Regions from separate parts of the Homo sapiens genome. Here region 1 is linked to region 2. Evidence: promoter capture Hi-C in 16 types of primary human blood cells and fetal thymus (Javierre and others, 2016). All regions are on one chromosome and are shown on one strand. The core of a region is centred on a gene start or on the middle of the fragment in contact, and the rest is flanking DNA. Distances in the headings are between cores, read along the strand shown.

The links. The method cuts DNA at HindIII sites, captures the fragments that hold promoters and counts their contacts. A CHiCAGO score of 5 or more calls a contact.
Region 1: a fragment that was not itself captured here is called in contact with the fragment with the promoter of CLGN in region 2 in 2 of 17 cell types (monocytes and endothelial precursors); the score reaches 6.0 in monocytes.

What each region holds. Positions count from the first base shown.
Region 1 is chr4:140,877,616-140,881,138 of GRCh38, forward strand. The region is part of intron 6 of RNF150 (ring finger protein 150); the gene reads right to left. Among named protein-coding and RNA genes, the nearest start is that of TBC1D9, 120 kb to the left of the region's middle. The HindIII fragment of the contact is 1,250 bases long and covers 1,226-2,475 here.
Region 2 is chr4:140,425,653-140,429,186 of GRCh38, forward strand. It overlaps CLGN (calmegin), which reads right to left and starts at 1,996. Exons shown (of 15, transcript NM_004362.3): 1 at 1,885-1,996. RefSeq lists an enhancer at 1,153-1,202. The HindIII fragment of the contact is 13,619 bases long and covers 1-3,534 here.

The DNA.
Region 1 (3,523 bases), core at 601-3,100, 450 kb after region 2:
GTGGAGAAAAGAAAGATGACCTAAATACAGGCTCTGACTTTAAGCTGAATTTGATCTACTAAAAGAGATCAGATTTGTATCCATAGAAATGTAATACAAGGTGACATATGCTAAAAGAGAGGTGTAAATAAAATGTTAAGGAAACAAAGGTGTGGGGAAAATATCACCTCTAAGTGGGTAACCAAGAGGATTCATGAAGTAGGTTACATGTAGGCTGGCAGTGAGGATCTAATTAGTATTGGGAAGTATGGAGGTAAGGGGAAATGGAATTCCTTCCAGAAGGGCCAGCATGACTATAGCAATCATCAAAGCAAATTTCAAGGCATGTGGATGGTTTGACTTGCCTGTGGCTTAGTGTATGAAGGATGTGGAATGGTTCAGACAGGTCACTGTGGCTCCTGAAGTGTTGGCTGTGGTTTCAATGAGATCAGAGGGAGAAAGATTCTCTATATCCCCATCAACACTTACTATTTTGTGTTTATTTTTAAATTTTATTTATTTATTTTTAATATTAGTCATCCTAACAGGTTAAGGTGATATCTCATTGTGTTTTTTTTTTTTTTTTTTTTTCAACAGAATCTTGTTTTATCACCCAGGCTGGAGTGCAGTGGCACAATCTTGGCTTACCTCACTCAACCTTTGCCTCCCAGGCTCAAGCAATTCTTGTGCCTCAGCCTCCTGAGTAGCTGGGATTACAGGTATGCACCACCATGCCCAGCTAATTTTTGTACTTGTAGTAGAGATGGGGTTTTACCATATCAGCCAGGCTGATCTCAACCTCCTGGTCTCAAGTTGATTCACCTGCCCTTGGCCTCCCAAAGTGCTGGGATTACAGGCGTAAACCACTGTGCCTGGCCTCATTGTGGTTTTGATTCACATTTCCCTGATGATCGGTGATGTTAAGTATCTTTTTTATGCTTGTTGGCCATTTGTACTTCTTCTTAGGAAAATTATCTATTCAAGTCCTTTGCCTATTTTTCAATAGGGTTATTTATTCTGTAATTTGAGTTGTAGGAGTTCTTTGTGTATCCTGGATATTAACACCTTATCAAATATATGGTTTGCAAATATTTTCTCTCATTCTGTAGCTTGTCTTTTCACTCTGTTGACTGTTTACTGTGCAGAAGATTTTAGTGTAATGTAGTCCAATTTGTCTATTTTTGTTTTTGTTGCCTGTGCATTTGGTGTCATTTCCAAGAAATCCTTACCAAATACAATGCCATGAAGCTTTCCCCCTCCTGTTTTCCTCTAGGAGTTTTACAGTTTCAGGTCTTAGATTTAGGTATTTAATTCAGTTTGAGTGATTTTTTTGTATGCTTACGCTCTAAGATAAGGGTCCAATTACTTTCTTTTGCAATGTGGACCTCCACTTTTCTCCACACCATTTTTTGACACTATCCTTCCACCACTATGTAGTCTTGGCTCACTGTTGAGGATTATTTGACCATATACATGAGGATCTCTATTCTGTTTTATTGGTCTACATGTCTGTCTTTATGCCAGTACCATATTGTTTTGATTACCATCACTCTGTAATATGTTTTGAAATTAGGAAGTGTGAGGCCTTCAATTTTGTTCTTCTTTCTCATGATTGTTTTGGCTATTTGGAGTAAATATGAGTTTTAGGACTGTTTTTCTGTTTCCACACAAAAAAAATGCCATTGGGATTTTGATAAAGATTCCATTGAATTTACAGATTGCTTTGGGTAGTATGGACATTTTAACAACATTGTCTTCCAATCCGTGAACATGTGATATCTTTCCATTTATTTATGTCTTAACTTTTTTAAGCAATGTTTTAAGTTTTCAGTGTACAAGTCTTTCACCTTGTTCATTAAGTTTATTCCTAAGTATTTTACTTTTTTGATGCTATCATAAATGGAACTGTTTTCTTAATTTCCTTTCATATTGTTACTGTTCAGAAATTCAACTAATCTTTTATGTTAATTTTGTACCCTGCACTTTGGGAGGCTGAGGCAGAAGGATCACTTGAGTCCAGGAGTTCAAGACCAGCCTGGGCAACATAGCAAGATCATGTCTCTACAGATGAAAAAAAACTAGCCTGGCATGGTGGCACATGTCTGTGGACCCAGCTATTTGGGAGGCTAAGCTGGCAGGATTACTTGAGCCCAGGTTGAGGCTCCAGTGAGCTGTGATTGTGCCATTGTACTCCATCCTGTGTGGCAGAGCAAAATCCTGTCTCAAAAAGAAAAAAAAAATTTGCACCTAGAAACTTTGACTTTGCTGAATAGTTTATTAGTTTTAAGAGCATTTGAAATGTGGAATCTTTAAAGTTTTCTACATATAAGATCATGTCATTTTGTGAACAGAGATAATTTTATTTCCTCCTTTCCAAATTGGATGCTTTTTATATATTTTTTTCTTTCCTAATTGCTCTGACTAGGACTTCCAGTACTGTGTTTAATAGAAGTGGTAAGAGTGAGCATTCTTGTCTTGTTCCTGATCTTGGAAGAAAGCTTTCAGTTTTTCACCATCTAGAATGATGTTAGCTATAGACTTTTCATACTTGACCTTTCTTATGTTGAGGGAATTCTTTTATTCCTAGTTTGTTGAATATTTTTATTATAAAAGCATGTTGAATTTTTTCAAATGCATTTTCTGCATCAGTTGAGATAATCATGTGATTTTCATTCTTTGTTCTGTTAATGTGGTGTATTACACTGACTGATTTTTTTTTGTATACTGAATCATCCTTGCATTCCAGGGATAAATCCCACTTGGTCATGGTATATAATCTTTTAATGTACTGTTTAAATTGATTTCCTCATATTTTGTCAAAGATTTTTGCATCAATATTTATTGGTTATATTGGTCTGTAATTTTCTTTTCTTGTAGTATCTTTGTCTGGATTTGGTATTATGGTAATACAGGCCTCATAAAATAGTTTAGAAGTGTCCCCTCCTCTCCAGTCTTTTTTTTTTTTGGAAGAGTTTGAGAAGAACTGTCATAAATTCTTTTTTAAATGTTTGGGATAATTCTCCAGTAAAGCCATCTGGTCCTGGGTTTTTTTTTGTTTGTTTGTTTGTTTGTTTGTTTTAAACAAAAGGTCTTTTTATTACTGGTTCAATCACCTTACTAGTGATAGGTTGGTTGAAATTTCCTATTTCTTCATGATTCAGTCATAACAGATTGCATTTGTCTAGGAATTTCTACATTTATACATTTCTTCTAGGTTATTCACAGTAGTCTCATAATATTTTTTATTTCTTTGGCATTAGTTGTAATGTCTCCTCTTTAATGTCTAACTATTTATTCAAGTCTTCTCTTTATTTTAATTAGTCTAGCTAAGGATCTGTCAATTTGGTTGATCCTTTCAAAACACAAATTCTAAGTTTGGTTGCTTTATTCCATTGTCTTTCTATTCTCTATTTCATTTATATCTGCTCTAATCTTTATTATTCCCTTGAAATTCTGCTAATTTTGAATTTGGTTTGTTTTCTTTTCTCTAGTTCCTTGAGGTATAAAGTTTGGTTCTTTGAGATCTTTCTTTTTTAATGTAGTC
Region 2 (3,534 bases), core at 746-3,245:
GAGTCTTGCTCTGTCACCCAGGCTGGAGTGCAGTGGCACAATCTCGGCTCACTGCAACCTCTGCCTCCTTGGTTCAAGCGATTCTCCTGTCTCAGCCTCCCGAGTAGCTGGGATTATAGGCGCGCGCCACTATGCCCGGCTAATTTTTGTATTTTTAGTAGAGACGGGGTTTCACCATATTGGTCAGGCTGGTCTCCAACTCCTAACCTCAGGTGATCCGCCCGCCTCGGCCTCCCAAAGTGCTGGGATTACAAGCGTGAGCCACCGCGCCGGGCCTTCTTTCACTCTCAACACACCTATTTAACACACTTTTTGTACATGCTATTTCTTATAACTGCGATGCCTTTCTGCTGTTATTCAGTTTTAATGGCTGACTGAGGATCCGACCAACACTGGTATATTCCAGAAGTGGTGTTTGACAATCACCTATTACTTAAAGTTTTAGTTGTCATGTGGCTTCAGGAATGCAATGTAGAATGATATAATAAAAAGTACACCCAACATGGCACAATCGCACCAAGTTTCTAGTTTTATTATTAAAAAGACAAGTGATAAAAACTGCTGTGGGCCTGTTTTCTCATTTGTGACGTGAACTAGACAATCCAAAGATTCTTTAAAGTTCATAATTCTAGTTTTCTATTTAAAAACACCAGTATTTATTAGGTACTTAAAAAGTACTACAGCTAACTTACAACACTTCAATTTCTAGACAAATGCATCAACATACTTACATCATTTACACACAATAATTAACCTTATCAACTAGCTAAGACAGAGAGTACAGAATATCTTGTTCTGAGGATTTGGAGATGAGATCTAAATGTTACTGGAAGATCAAACCAATAAGACGTGAAGGCAAAACTCCAAACTGAAAACAGGTCAAACTTACAATGACCCAAAGGAGGGCTACCTCGAGTGATGTCGACATTTGTAAAACAAGCAAAATCATCAGATGAGATCGGGATTTTGCCTGCTTTTAAGCAACAAAAAGTTTATACGTTAATGAACTCTTTTCTAATTTGAGACTTCTTCCTGTGGCCACGTTATTTACCTTTTCTCTCCCAGTCCTGAGCTTTGGTTGCCATTTGCTTTTAACTCCCAAGCAAACACCTCCTCTTTGTTGCTTGGGCAGATGCTATAAATAAAATCAGCGAAAGTGTCTGATTGATGGTAAACAGGCCTGGGGCGATAATGAGTCTAGTAATTAGGGCCTCTCTGGATTCAACCCAGCCCTTTCGCCCGCCCCCCGGCGGCGCACAATGGGCTCTGCGCGGGTATCGAGGGAGCGGCCAACAGTCCCTGGCCCCACCGCCGTGAAGTGGGGTCCCTTCGCTTCCACATAGGTGGAGACTGAGACAGCCGAGCCTATTTTGATCTCGTTTGGGTTTCTGTAAGGAGCAGTCAGCAGAGTGAGCAGCGCCCAGACGCGCCCCGGGCCCCCTCTACAACCATTGGGAGAGCGCCCCGGGCTCAAGCGTGGAACGGGGCTGCAATGGCAACCGCTGGAATAACGGCCTCGGCTCCCGGTGGCTCCTCAAGCCCGCAGGGGAGGCCGGCCGGGCTAGGCACCTAGCTGTCCCCGTGCTCGTCCGCCCCAGCCCGGGCGCAGCAGGTGGATGCGGCGGTGCTGAAGACACAAAGGGTCCCAGGTGGCACCACCTCCTGCGTCCACCCACGGGGCCGCCAGAGCCCAGTCAAGACCCTAGCTCGCTGCAGCCCCATCGCCAGACTCAACATCCACCCTCACTTGGCCCCGACCGGTTCAGCCCTCTGGCGGCAAAGTAACGGGGTGCCTGGGGGAAGCAGCAACGACTCCGCTTCCTCACCCCAATCTGCGCGCAAAGGGCAGCGGGACAGCGGGAACGCGGCCTGCTGCTCACGCACCTCTCTTGCGGCCTGTTTTCGGCAGTGACAGCTCAGATGTCCAAGTCGTTGCCACTTGGTCCCCGCGTCTCTTCAGACCAGTCCCGCCGGCGGCCGCGCAGCAGCGACTACTAACCGCGCGTGCGCGTGCGGTGGCGGGCGGGAGGCGGTGGCGGCCCGAGGTGTGTGCTACGCGCTCCTGCTCCGAGGGGCTCAACCGCCTCCAGGGGGAGCCGCACATGGAGCCTGTGCCGCCGCCGGCCGGTTGTGGCCTGGACCCCGCTCCCGGGTTAGCCCAGGAGGAATTCCCCCTGCAAGTCCGAAGACTTTTCCTCCTCTGAGCTCCCGCCCTCTCTGCAGACCGTGCTACCTCCTGTTGCGCAATGATTGGGTCCTGAATTTTATGTAAATCATATTTATGAACAACGTCCAGTAATAAGTGCAGCAAGATTAGGGCTCTAGGTTTTCTCCAGAGTTCTAGATGTTAACAGATCTGCAGTCATGGTGATTAATAAGGAGCTTTCCTGTCTGGTGTGTGTATATGACAAATACAGATGCGTTAAGTGTTAATAAATACATTGTATATAAAACAATATGTTCTTTTTCTCTCGAACAACACTATTAATAAGAGCTGCTAACATTTATTGTGTTCATTGTGCTCTAAGGGGCTTACATTCATTGTTTAACCTTCGTGGCAACCCAGGTGATGAAACTGATGGCAACTTGCTCGAAGTTACACAACATGTAAACAGTGGAAACGGGATGTAAATCAGGCCTGTCTCTCTCAGAGCCTGTAGTTTCAAACACATTGAAATAAATCTTAGCATAAACGTAGTTTATGCTATGATTATGCAATCACAAGCTGCTTTGCCTTTTATATATTGGATCAATATTAATTTTACTACTTAATATTTTATAGTAAATCTTGACTTTGAATTTGGTATAACAATTTAATTTTATTGGAAGATTAATTAACAACATTTAATTGACTTGTGAGTCTAAGACCCTTGTTGAAGAGTTTCAATCTTAAGGGTTTGGTGGCATTCCGTGCACAACGTATCATTATTGGCTAGGGGTCAAGATCACTGAGTTTTTTCACATTGCTTCACTAATTAAGACCAGCATTTCTAAACTTTTGACTTTGTCATCTCTGGGAGAGTGTTTGGATAGTGTTAAAATTTACTGGTTAAAAAGACATTTTGTTTGAGATACTTTGTAACAATATTATACCCTTTATTTCTTTCTTCCGTCCTTCTGACTTCTATTATTCAACATACTTCTGTGGCCCATAACAAATACACTTGAACTGCTAGAGAGGGATTTTTTAAAGGATCCATTCAAAGTTTGCAGTGAGGAAGCTGAAAACTAAAAATGTAAGAATAGTGAATTTTTGCAAGATTTAGTAGTATCTTCTTGGTCACATAGTACTCAAAACCTTGAGAACATTTTTTTACTCTTTGGCTGCTACATTCACTGCCTCCATAAATTAAACTCTAACTCCATAAAATCATCTAAAAGAGGTCCTCACCCCCTCCAGTCCCTGTGCCATTTCTCTAGTTTAGATTCTCACTACTTTAGAAACTGTTGTTCAGAGTTACCTAACTAGTTGCCCCCCTTCAGAGCCTCCCACCTACACTTCGTAGTTTAATCCTCAGCTCATTCAATAGTTTC